Regions from separate parts of the Homo sapiens genome. Here region 2 is linked to region 1. The links are contacts of gene promoters, found by promoter capture Hi-C in blood cells and fetal thymus (Javierre and others, 2016). All regions are on one chromosome and are shown on one strand. Each heading gives the region's core, a stretch centred on a gene start or on the middle of the fragment in contact. The rest is flanking DNA. Distances are from core to core; before and after follow the strand shown. Region 1 holds the start of OBI1 (ORC ubiquitin ligase 1). Region 2 overlaps LOC105370273 (a long non-coding RNA gene).

Region 1 (5,784 bases), core at 82-2,581:
CCGACCCTCGAGGCAGGCGGATCACTTGAGGTCAGGAGTTGGAGACCAGCCTGACCAACAGGGTGAAACTCCGTCTTTACTAAAAATACAAAAATTAGCCAAGCATGGTGGCGCATGACTGTAATCCCAGCTACTCGGGAGGCTGGCTGAGGCAGGCGGATGGGATCGCTTGAGCCTGGGAGGTCGCTGTGTTGGCACCTAGTGGTGACAGAGCTAGACCCTATCTCAAAAAACAAAACAAAAGTTGCCAGAAGCCATGGAGCTACCGTTTAGGTAGGAAGTTGTTGGGGGCAGGGATTTCCGCTGAAGCAGCCCAGGTCCAGAACCCCTTTCTCTTAACCATGAGGCTGCTTCTTGAAGTCATACTGCGTCTTTTTCACAAAGATTAGTAAAAGTTGTCCCGATGGTCTTGTCTTTAAATCTCTCAACTCACAGATTTTACTTGTTAGCGTAATTTATCACATCAGCTCTTCCTCGCTTCAAGTAAGTTGCAGATAAATTCCAAATTTGTTATACTGCATTTAAGATAAATTTAGGAACTTTTAGGTTTTTTTCTTTTTTGTTGGTAGGAAACGCAACTTATAACCTCACAAATTCTCCCTTGGGGTTCAACAACACAGCGGTACATTTCATATGCAACCATGCACCTGAAATGAAGACGTGAAAACGTTAATCTCCTTTTGGTGGAAAACCCAGAGAAGCCCACAGTAAAAATGTATTTTCAGGGAAAGCTGCGATTAAATGTATCAGGATCGTCTCGGACACAGATAAGGAGACAATCACTGTTTTCTTAAGTGAATTATTGTGCCCTCTGGAAGCACATTATATTGAGTGGAAAGAGAACTGACAGAGGTGGAAAGCTGTTTTGAAAAAAATTGAAACGTGTAGATAATGTCTTTTCTCTATGTTTTGATTACGCTGTGTTGGCGGATGTGTGGGGTTTAATAATTAGGCGAAAAACTCTCCATCCTTCACCCCATCCAATCCCCGAAAACAATTTGGGGATTTAAAAAATCGCCTTTCCGTATCTTCCTCTTCTGTCTCCACTATTCCGCTTTCCTTTAGATTTTCCAAGATCCTCGATACTTGTAGTAAACTACCTTCCTACACATTCGCAGGAATCTTGCAGCTCCCTAATCAGTGAATTTTCTTTCTTTCTTTCTTTCTTTCTTTTTTTTTTTTTTTTTTTTAATGAAAGGAAAACGCCTTGGAGATCGCGCGTTTCGAAAGCGCGTTTTCGTTTTCTCTCCTGGGCGGGTTATGGCCCTACCGGGGCGCCGTAGCCGGCCCGCGCGTGCCCAGTCTTGGCGAAGAGTAGCGGTAGGTCGGCGGGACTTCCGTGTTGGCGGGATTCTGAACGCTGCCATGGCTCAGACCGTGCAGAATGTTACATTGTCGCTCACTCTGCCCATCACGTGCCACATTTGCTTGGGGAAGGTAATGGGTGATTGTGGGCACAGCTACAAAACGGGGTTGGATAAGTCGCTCGCCGGGGCCGAGGGCCGTCTCGTGCGGGGGCGGGGAAGGGGCGTGAGGCGCGGAGATGGGAGAAAACGCTAACCCGCGTTCTTGATGGGAGGCCGCGTCCTGGGAGATGGGGGTAGCGCACCGTGATTAATGGATTCATCTGGGCGCCTTTCGGAGGAGGGTGACAGCGGCCCGTGGTCTGCCGGGAGGGCGGCGAGACGGCCCTGCCACCGCCCGCGGCCTCACACTGGCAAGACACCGGCCTCGAAGGAGGCCCCATCAGAAACGCATCGCAGGGATATTTAACTTCCCTCTGCAGCCTCGCGTGGCGTGTAGTGAAGCCCATTAAAACACATTTCCTGGGAGCCTCACCTCGGGCTTCTTAGTCCTCTGTAACTAGTGTTCATCCTCTGGGGCCTACGGTGCTGTGTATTGAGTCTTTTCCATTTCCAAGACCTTTTGCCTTTATCCTGGCCTTGAGGATGACCTTTGCTCTGAATTCCTAATTTGAAAAGTAAATAGTAAGTGCTCCTGGAGGGTATTAGAATAAGAGGTGTGGCTTTTAACTCCAAGAATGGGTCAGTCAGGAGATAGAATACTCTCTCTTTGTGATGCAAGAGGTGCCTAGTGTGTTTGTGAAACAAGGTAGGGAAAGTGGTTCTGAATTAGAAACGGAGCTTTGAATATTCTAATGCATTCCTCTCCTCTTTCATTTCCATTTGTGCCTCACTTTCGGTGTTTTAAAGAGCATTTCTTTACCGAATAGATAAAGAAGGGGAAAGATAAACCACCAACTTTTTTCCACCCTGAATTATTTTTACGTCTGTGGTGTGTCAGGGTGTGTGTTTACCCCCCAGCGCAGACTGAGCCGTAGACTCAGATTTGAGAAATACAAACTTCTAGAGCAAGCATTTGAGTGCCGGCCAATACGATCTGCCTGGGGTGTTTGAAGTTCTGTGTGAATTTACTGGATTCAAAAAGTAGAAGAAAGTCAGCATTGGAAGCAACTGATAATTCTGGATAGCAGTCAGAATGAAATGCCAATGAAATAGCAAATGTGCTGGGAGATCATGGATTGGGGATGGCTTGATCAATTTGGAGAGATCAAGGATGGCCTCATCGAGGATGGTGTTTGAGCTGGCATTGAGCTATTACTTACTGCCTGCACGGCTAGGGGGAGGGAAGAAGCGATGTTTCTATTTGCCACAGTCTACATTTGGCTCCTGACATAAAGTTCCTGGAAATATGTGTTAAATTCTGAGTTAATTTCCTCCAACACTGGCTTTAAAGGCTGATAAAAATATTCTTGGGAAGTATTTTGTACACATTATATATAGTTTCCATTAGTTATAGGCTGTCTTTTGCAATTGTATTGACAGTGTTCTGTTTGATTTACCAAACCTATACTTTTTGTATTTAACGAGAGTGATACCTCATAGAATATAGTGATTTGCAGACTACAGAGTGCTTTTGTATGCATATATTATTTTGTTTACTCTTCACACCAATGCTTTAAGATAGGGCTGGTTTTTCCATTTTTAAAATAAGAATATTAAAGCTTAGAGTCTGTGGTTGAACCTCTATACTATCATTTGTGTCTTCAGAATACTAAGACTTTGAGTCTTCATAGTTGAACCTCTATCATTATTACCATTTGTCTTCAGATTACTTCGTAAAACCCTCACCTAAGTTCATCCATGACATCAGGCATTTTTAGTGTTTTTTTTTTCCTGTATTGGTTAACTTTATTCTGAAATAAAAATCAGATAATAAAAATAAAAAGATTAAGACTTTTGTCTTAATCTTATGTGCCAGACTTTATGCTAAACTTTGCACATGCTTCATTTAATCTTCTGAAAACAGAAAGGATGGGGAGTTGATGTTATTACCATATTTCTACTGTTACAGATAAGGAAACAGGCTCAAAAAGGTTAAGCCAGGCGCGGTGGCTCACGCCTGTAATCCCAGCACTTTGGGAGGCCGAGGCGGGCAGATCGCCTGAGGTCAGGAGTTTGAGACCAGCATGGCCAATATGGTGAAACCCCATCGCTACTAAAAATACAAAATTTGCTGGGTGTGGTGGCAGGCGCCTGTAATCCCAGTTGAGGCAGGAGAATTGCTTGAACCTGGGAGGCGGAGGTTGTAGTGAGCTGAGATCGCGCCATTGCACTCCAGCCTGGGCAACAAGAGTGAGACTTTGTCTCAAAAAAAAAAAAAAAAAAAAAATTAAAAATAAAAGAAAATTAATTAATTAAGGATTTTTAAACAGGCTCCTCCCCCCCCCCCCCCAGGTACCATGGAAGCAGAAAGGATATGTGACTGAGGGCCTGAGTTCTACATTCAGGCTAGCCGGGTTCTAATCTAATCTACCACTTACCACTCATACAACCTTTTACAAGTTACTTAACTTTTTTTCTTTTTTTTTTCTTTTTTTCTGAGACGGAGTTTCGCTCTTGTTGCCCGGGCTGGAGAGCAATGGCGCGATCTCGGCTCACCGCAACCTCCGCCTCCCGGGTTCAAGCAATTCTCCTGCCTCAGCCTCCTGAGTAGCTGGGATTACAGGCATGCGCCACCACGCCCGGCAAATTTTGTATTTTTGGTAGAGACGGGGTTTCTCCATGTTGGTCAGGCTGGTCTTGAACTCCCGAACTAGGTGATCTGCCCGCCTCGGCCTCCCAAAGTGCTGGGATTACAAGCGTGAGCCACCACTCCCAGCTTAAGTTACTTAACTCTTTTGAGCCTGTTTCCTTATCTGTAACAGTAAAAATATGGTAATAACATCAACTCCCCATCCTTTCAGTTTTCAGAAGATTAAACAAAGCATGTGCAAAGTTTAGCATAAAGTCTGGCACATAATGTTTAATAACTGTTAGCTTTTACTATAGCCATTGAGGCCAGCCCTCAAACTGAGGAAACCAGCCTTTTCCAGTAATTGTTCTTCCCAGTTGCTTTGTGAGGCTGGAGCACTTCAAAATGAAGATTTGCATTCCCAACCAAATGAGACCTGTTTGTTCTGGAAATTGCCACAGTACATCCAGAATTTTCAGCTGGTTCCATGTCTCTTTTCTTTTTTATAGTGAAAGCAAATTCAGTATGATTGTGCTGCTCACCCTCCTACACGTATTATACTGTGAGATACTAAAACTGGCGTGTCCTCAGGTTCGCTTCTGCTTCCCTGACATAGAGCATCTCTGGCCACTTCTAAGAATGTTCCTAAGGTCCTTCGTGCCTAGCTCTTTTTTAAAGATAATTGTTCTTGTGCTACTGTTACCATATGTCCCCAGATCTCACAGTCAGCATCTTCTCTTTTGATTATTCAACAGAATTAAGGACCATTATCCCTGGAGGGTCACAAGGTGGATACCATGAAGGGGGAGAGATGAGGGCAGGGCATTAAATCTGAAGAGATAGATGCCAGTGGGGATGGAGAGGAAGGAGAGAGAGCCCAGGTATTCACCTGTTAATGCTTTGTCTTTGCACTTAAAATTGGAAAATTTACACCTCTGTCTCTACTTCAGTTTTAAAGGTGAATTTTCTCTACCCAATAATGTTTTTAGTTACTTTGCCAATATTGTAAGTAAGAGCTCTATGTGGCCTGAAGAAGTTAGGTACCATCCCATGGGATGATTTACGCATAACATATTTTCTTACCTATTCTTCCCTGTTTTTTTTTTGTTTGTTTGTTTCTTAAACTAGTGGGCCAGCAAGCAGAAATGTAGTAATGATCTATCCCAGAGTATCTGTTAAGTGACATTTTGATAGTGCCACCAGGCTGTTACAAACCAGTTTACCTCTAGATAATTCCAGGGTTTATCTTTTCAATTGGGACTCAAGCTGTGAAACCAAATTATGGCATGTAATACTTTTTATTGGCCGTGCATGCATTTTGCCATGAGTGAAAGCCAAATGTGGCCCGCAGTTGGTTTTATGAAAGGGTGAAGGAGATTCTCAAGAGAAATGCAAAGCAACTAATGCTTTTCAGCATTAATGTATCATATTCAGTTATTTCTCATTCGACTATGAGTCCAGTTTTGGGTCCTACCCTTTAAGATAAACAATAAACCAGAGTATTTTGAAAACATTTGGGGGAGAATGAAATTGGGATTGGAATGTAGGTGGACTGGAATAGTGCTGGAATGAATGGATATGATAGGGAATCTTTAATTAAAATATTTTTCATTTGGAAGGGACTCAAGCCTTGTGTGGCTCCATAAAATTATGATTTCTACTTAATATTAAGGGCAAGTGTTCTGGCTGAAATAACCAGAAATGAAATCAGCTTCCTTATAATGCAGGAGTTCCTGTGTCTTGGAGTAT
Region 2 (5,422 bases), core at 2,548-5,047, 320 kb before region 1:
AAGTTGAGTCTGCATAAGACTAAAACAACTTGCTTTTTAAATAAAAAATTAGTTACCTGTTATTTGGCAAAGGAACAGGTACTCATTATGAGCCAAAAGATGTGGCAGTGTCATCCTGTTTTTACTGATTATTTTCTTTTACTTTTTGAAAATGTTAGACTTGTAGAAAAGTTGCAAGAATAATACAAATAATTCTCATATCCTAATATTAACATTTATCATGTATTTTTATAAATAATGTAAGAATTGTAGGGATGAAAACTCCTTCCCTTTAAATACTTCAGTTTGCAATTCTTAAAAACAGAAAATGCTCTTATCTAACTACAATACAATTAATAAAGTCAGGAGACTAACACTGAGACAATACAATTACCTAAACAACCAACTTATATTCAGATTTTGCTAATTGACTTGATGTCTTTTATAAGAAAAAAAACACAAAGTCACACTTAACCATCGGGTCTCTTTAGTCTTTTAAAATCTAGAACAGTATTTACTATTTCTTTGTGGCTCATGACAGGGACATTTTATAAGCCAATTATAAGGTTGGTCTAATGTTTCTTCATGATGTTAGATTTAGGATTTGGGCTTTTGGTAGGAATAACACAAAAGCAATACTTAATTATCAGTGCTTTCTCTCAGGAAGCACAAACTAGATTTGTGCATTTGTTGGTGATGTTAACTTTGAGCACTTGGTTAAAGGGAGATTTACCACGATCCTCTACTTTCAAGTCTTTAAAAGTGGAGAGAAACTATGATATTATATCAATAATTCTTCTCAAAATTTATCCACTGGTTGTAGTCCATTAATGATACTTTCCTGAGTCAATTATTATTATTAGGGCTGCCAAATGGTGGTTTTTCTAATTTCATAATTTCTTTAACATTTATTACAAATGTTGCCTTCCTATTGTTAGAAAACTTCCTTCTCATTCATATGTTTGTTTATATGTTTATATTAACATGAACTCATGGAGTTTTACCCTATCCAGTGGGTACAAACTTTTACTGTCATTATTTATTTTGATTCTAAATGGTCCCAGACTTGTCTGGTGGGGGCCCCTCAAGCTGGCTCCTAAATTTCATTTATTTCATTTTATTTTGAGACAGAGTCTCACTGTGTCACCCAGGCTGGAGTGCAGTGGCAAGATCTCGGCTCACTGCAGTCTCTGCCTCCTGGGTTCAAGCAATTCTCCTGTCTCAGCCTCCCAAGTAGCTGGGATTACAGGCGCCTGCCACCATGCCCAGATAATTTTTGTATTTTTAGTAGAGACGGGGTTTCACTGCATTGGCCAGGCTGGTCTCAAACTCCTGTCTTCAGGTGATCCACCTGCCTTGGCCTCCCAAAGTGCTGGGATTCAGGTGTGAACCACCATGCCTGGACAAATTTCACTGATATTTAATCAATTTTCAAGTGGTTTTCTTTGCATCTTATATTCACATCCCTACCAACCTCACACTTTGATCTTGTTGTTCTTTTAGTTTTGTAAACACTGCAAAGCAGCCATGTATACCCTTCAATGAAGAAGGATAAGTAATCACAAATTAGGATACTCTTAAAAAACTTGTCTTTGAAGACTTTATTCTTCATAATCAAATTTTACATAAAGCCAATCCCAATATCAATTTAGGGTGATAATGTAGGACAGTAACAGCAGCTGAATTTTGTGTTTTAAAGCAAACCTGCATTTTGATTTTTTTCCGATTATTTCATTCTCGATCACTTTATTTGCAGATTCAGAAAAGCCTGAATTTGCAAAAAGTTTGTTTCGATCATCATAGGCAAGGTGAAATAGAAAGTCGAAGAAATCATCTCGGTCATTACGGTAAAGTACCACTTCTTTCTGTGGGTAAAAGTATTCTTGGTTTTCTGTTTGTTTTCAGGGCTGAGAGTGTATGTGTGGGTGCAGAGGGTGGGCAGTGTGGGCGTCAGATGGAATAGGGGAAGAGGGAGAAGGTAGTGTGGGAGAGGGCCACCTACCCTACCCAAGAAACTTAGCAGGCTACAATGATAAAGTGTAAAGAACAATTACTCAATTAAGATTACTCTGTCTCTGTAAATCTACTTGCCTCTTTAGACACATTTAAAATATTATAGGATTTTAAGGTTTCCAGGGCTAATTTTAAGACACAAACCCCTAAGCAATGCACATGAAAAAAACAATACCTTTCCTTTGGGACTACCTTTTCAAACTCCAGTGTTTCAAATACAAATTACAGCAGATACATTTATGAAATGAGTGGCCATGGATCCTCTAGAAGTCCTTCAGCTAGGATGCTCAGCTTGGTGGCAAAGGTATGTTAGCATCCAGCCAGGACTCCAAAAGCCGTGATCCCATAATTGATCCGACTGAGACTGTGGAGGAATTTAAGCATAACATAATCCCTCAAATCATCTTTTGGCCCCAATTGCATGTTAACAGTTGCACAGAAATTAGGCTACACGTGTATTTATTATTTTGCAGCTTTGCAGACACAACAGTATATTCCCCCATCTGATTTATTTGATTGACAGAGGCCTTGTTTCGGTTGCTGGAGCTCCATTTCTCTGGCTCTAAGAAATTCAGAAAGTGGCAACCAGGGAAAAGACAAGCAACCAAATCTCCTGCTTTCACAACTGCAGTGCTGTCTGAGCTTGTGTCTGGACTATCATATACCATTACAGTTGATCAAGCTTAAAAAGCAAACTCAGATTTTCAAGCAAAGCAGTCACTGGAGTACATTTATGGATCGTGTTCTCATTCCAATACAGTCCCCAGGGGAGAAAGTGAACAGCACCAGGAATGGATCTGCTGTTTCCCTTCAATATAAGTTTTGCATAATACAGAAATGCTAGTCTGTAAACAATATGAACACCTGTCATACACATGACAACCAGAAGGTGGCACAGTCTTAACATTGACCAAGTTCTGTCAGCTCTACTGTTGAATCCAAGCAGATTTGTGATAACTGCTGATTGCACTATATACATTCATTTATGCATTTGTGTCTGTCCTCAACTACATATAAACAAACCTCTTCCTATGCCTGAAAACTGAGAACTCTTTGCTTGTTTCCATTTTCTTTTTATCCCCTCTCCCCTCCCCACCTATACAATTAATATTGTTTTGGTTTAAGCTTCAGAGGACTTGAATATTGCTCTGTATTTATCTTCCTGTTAGAAGCACTTGGTTCATGAAACCTAAATGGAGCCTCATGATTTGCATCTTTCTTATGTCTTATTTGTAACCGATTGCCATCATGAGAAGATCTTAATTTTATATTCATTCATTAGTAGAGTTTCATTCAAATAGTAATTAACTCTTTGATCAAAACTAACAAAATGAATTACTAGTATTGAGTGGTGTGCATTCATATAATTCAAAAGGAAATTATAAATTTCTGATGCGTTAAACATTAGATTTATATTGCAGGTTCCATTATAAAGAAAAGGCCATGAATTCACTAGTATTTTTCTTTCTTTAAGAGAAAAGAGAGCATGCCTTTGTATTTTATGAAACTGGATTTATTAAGATTCATGAGAGGCCTTAATGGTAAAAATGAACAGTGTGTAAAAAAGTTGGCAACATTTCATCACAACCTGTGAGTGCTGGCAATTGGCATCATTTTTATACCCAAAACGTACACTTCTCATGGCCACCAAGTAAACTCTTTAAAATTAGTTACCCTTCAATTGTGAATAAAACCAATTTCCCTGATGTGAATTCTTGTATTTATTATTTCTTGTTCATTTAGGTGGAAGGTCTAGATTGAAAATGGACCTCCTGTTTTCCAATATTTGGGACAGCTCCCTTCCACATTATCCCTCCATGCTTCCATGCTCACACCTCTCCACAAATGGGGGAGTTCCCTGTAAATTGTTCCTTTCACTTGGCCTTCTATGCATTCTCTCCTTCTGCCTCTGCCATCTGGCAGCCTTCCTGCCCCCACATGATGTCCTCTGTCCTTAGTCCAATATGCCTGTCAGAATGCTTATTGGGAGGGCAACCCTCTCCAACTGGGAAGCATACTTAGCCCCTACGTATAGGCGGCATCTAACATTGGTTGAACTAAACCATCACTTAGTCATGGGGAGTTCAAATAGCAACACAGAGAAAAGTCTATATTTACTTTTTAATAAGCATAAATCCTGAAGCGATGACTCATTCCTATGAGCACCCTTCCCTACTAAGTCCCCCTTAAAAAAAAAGGCACCACTTAAAAACCAGATTCTAGATATTTCTCTTTACAGAATATGAAGAAAGTAGGCTTAAGTGAAGCCAAGTGGGTAATATATACAAATATACATCTTTTTCCTTGTTGGACATTTTTGAAGGCTATTTTACAGGTATAAATAGGTCACACCTCAGAGAACCTAAACGTTTTATCTTATATGCCCTAACCTCAACCTTCTAGGCTTTAGAATCAATAATGGCATTTTTTTGTCCCCTCCGGTTCCATTTCTACTTAAGCCATAAACCACAGAAATGGAAGCTTAACCTCATACTGGCTGTGTGACATTTTGACTCTCCCCTCAGGGTCCTGAAATATCCCAGCATATGCCCATTCTGGCATAAATCAGAGAACGGCAAGCTCAGGGGACACCATATGGCCAAACGCCTGCATGTTACATTGGGGCATGCTGAGGCTTCAGGTACGCCCAGCTAGGCTTAGATCTGGTGTTGGTCTCATGGGCCAGAATTGAATTCTAAGAAGTCCTCTGGGGAGGACAGTCCAGCCTATGGAGGGCTGAGAATAGCTACTTCAACCTGGAAATGTTTCAAGAATCTACGCTAATTGAGATTGAATTGTCATCCTCTCATGTGAATCATCAACTACAGTCCTCTTCTGCTCAAGGATAAGTGGTGAAGTGAAGATTTACTTCTATAGGGGCCAAGTGGAGACAGTGCTCCACTCCTCCCTGACATAGCCTGGGTGCTTTAGGAACCAGGAGGTTTTCCTCCTCTCCAACTGAATAACACCATAGTAGGTCTAACAGATAAACGATAAAGCCTCAGGATTCTCATGCCAGTATACAGTAGGTGCTAAATAATGTTAAAGCGAACAAATAAGCTCTCAGGTTCCATGAAATTAAACGTAGGTGGTAGAAATAAATCTTGAAACTTTCCTTCTGCTCCCTCTTCTCTCTTCCCTGTGTCTTATAGATTCTGATTTTCTATTTAGCTCCAGAGTCTACATCAGAAGTTGTAGATTTCTTTTTGTGGAGATGTTGTTGAGGGTGTGATAAAGAAGGCTGGCTTGCAACAAAAGTCAGGAGAGCCCTTATGCTGTTTCCTTAATAAAGTATAATAATTCAAATCAATTAAATTTAAACTTCTTAGTAGTATAATATAATCAATTATGTACGTGAAAAATGAGGAAGACAAAGTAGATACAGAAAGGAGAATTTGGGGCCAGGTGCGGCAGCTCACACCTGTAATCC

The links. Contacts are between HindIII fragments. The CHiCAGO score rates a contact against its expected background, and 5 or more counts as called.
Region 2: a contact is called between a fragment that was not itself captured here and the fragment with the promoter of OBI1 in region 1, in 3 of 17 cell types (M1 macrophages, M2 macrophages and M0 macrophages). The highest score is 8.4, in M1 macrophages.

The regions. Positions count from the first base shown.
Region 1 is chr13:78,654,702-78,660,485 of GRCh38, reverse strand. It overlaps OBI1 (ORC ubiquitin ligase 1), which reads left to right and starts at 1,331. Exons shown (of 6, transcript NM_024546.4): 1 at 1,331-1,437. The coding sequence starts at 1,366. RefSeq lists enhancers at 1,973-2,052, 1,963-2,923. The HindIII fragment of the contact is 7,616 bases long and covers 1-3,027 here.
Region 2 is chr13:78,976,049-78,981,470 of GRCh38, reverse strand. It overlaps LOC105370273 (a long non-coding RNA gene), which reads left to right. Exons shown (of 5, transcript XR_942108.4): 2 at 1,736-1,826. Among named protein-coding and RNA genes, the nearest start is that of LINC00331, 140 kb to the right of the region's middle. The HindIII fragment of the contact is 1,356 bases long and covers 3,120-4,475 here.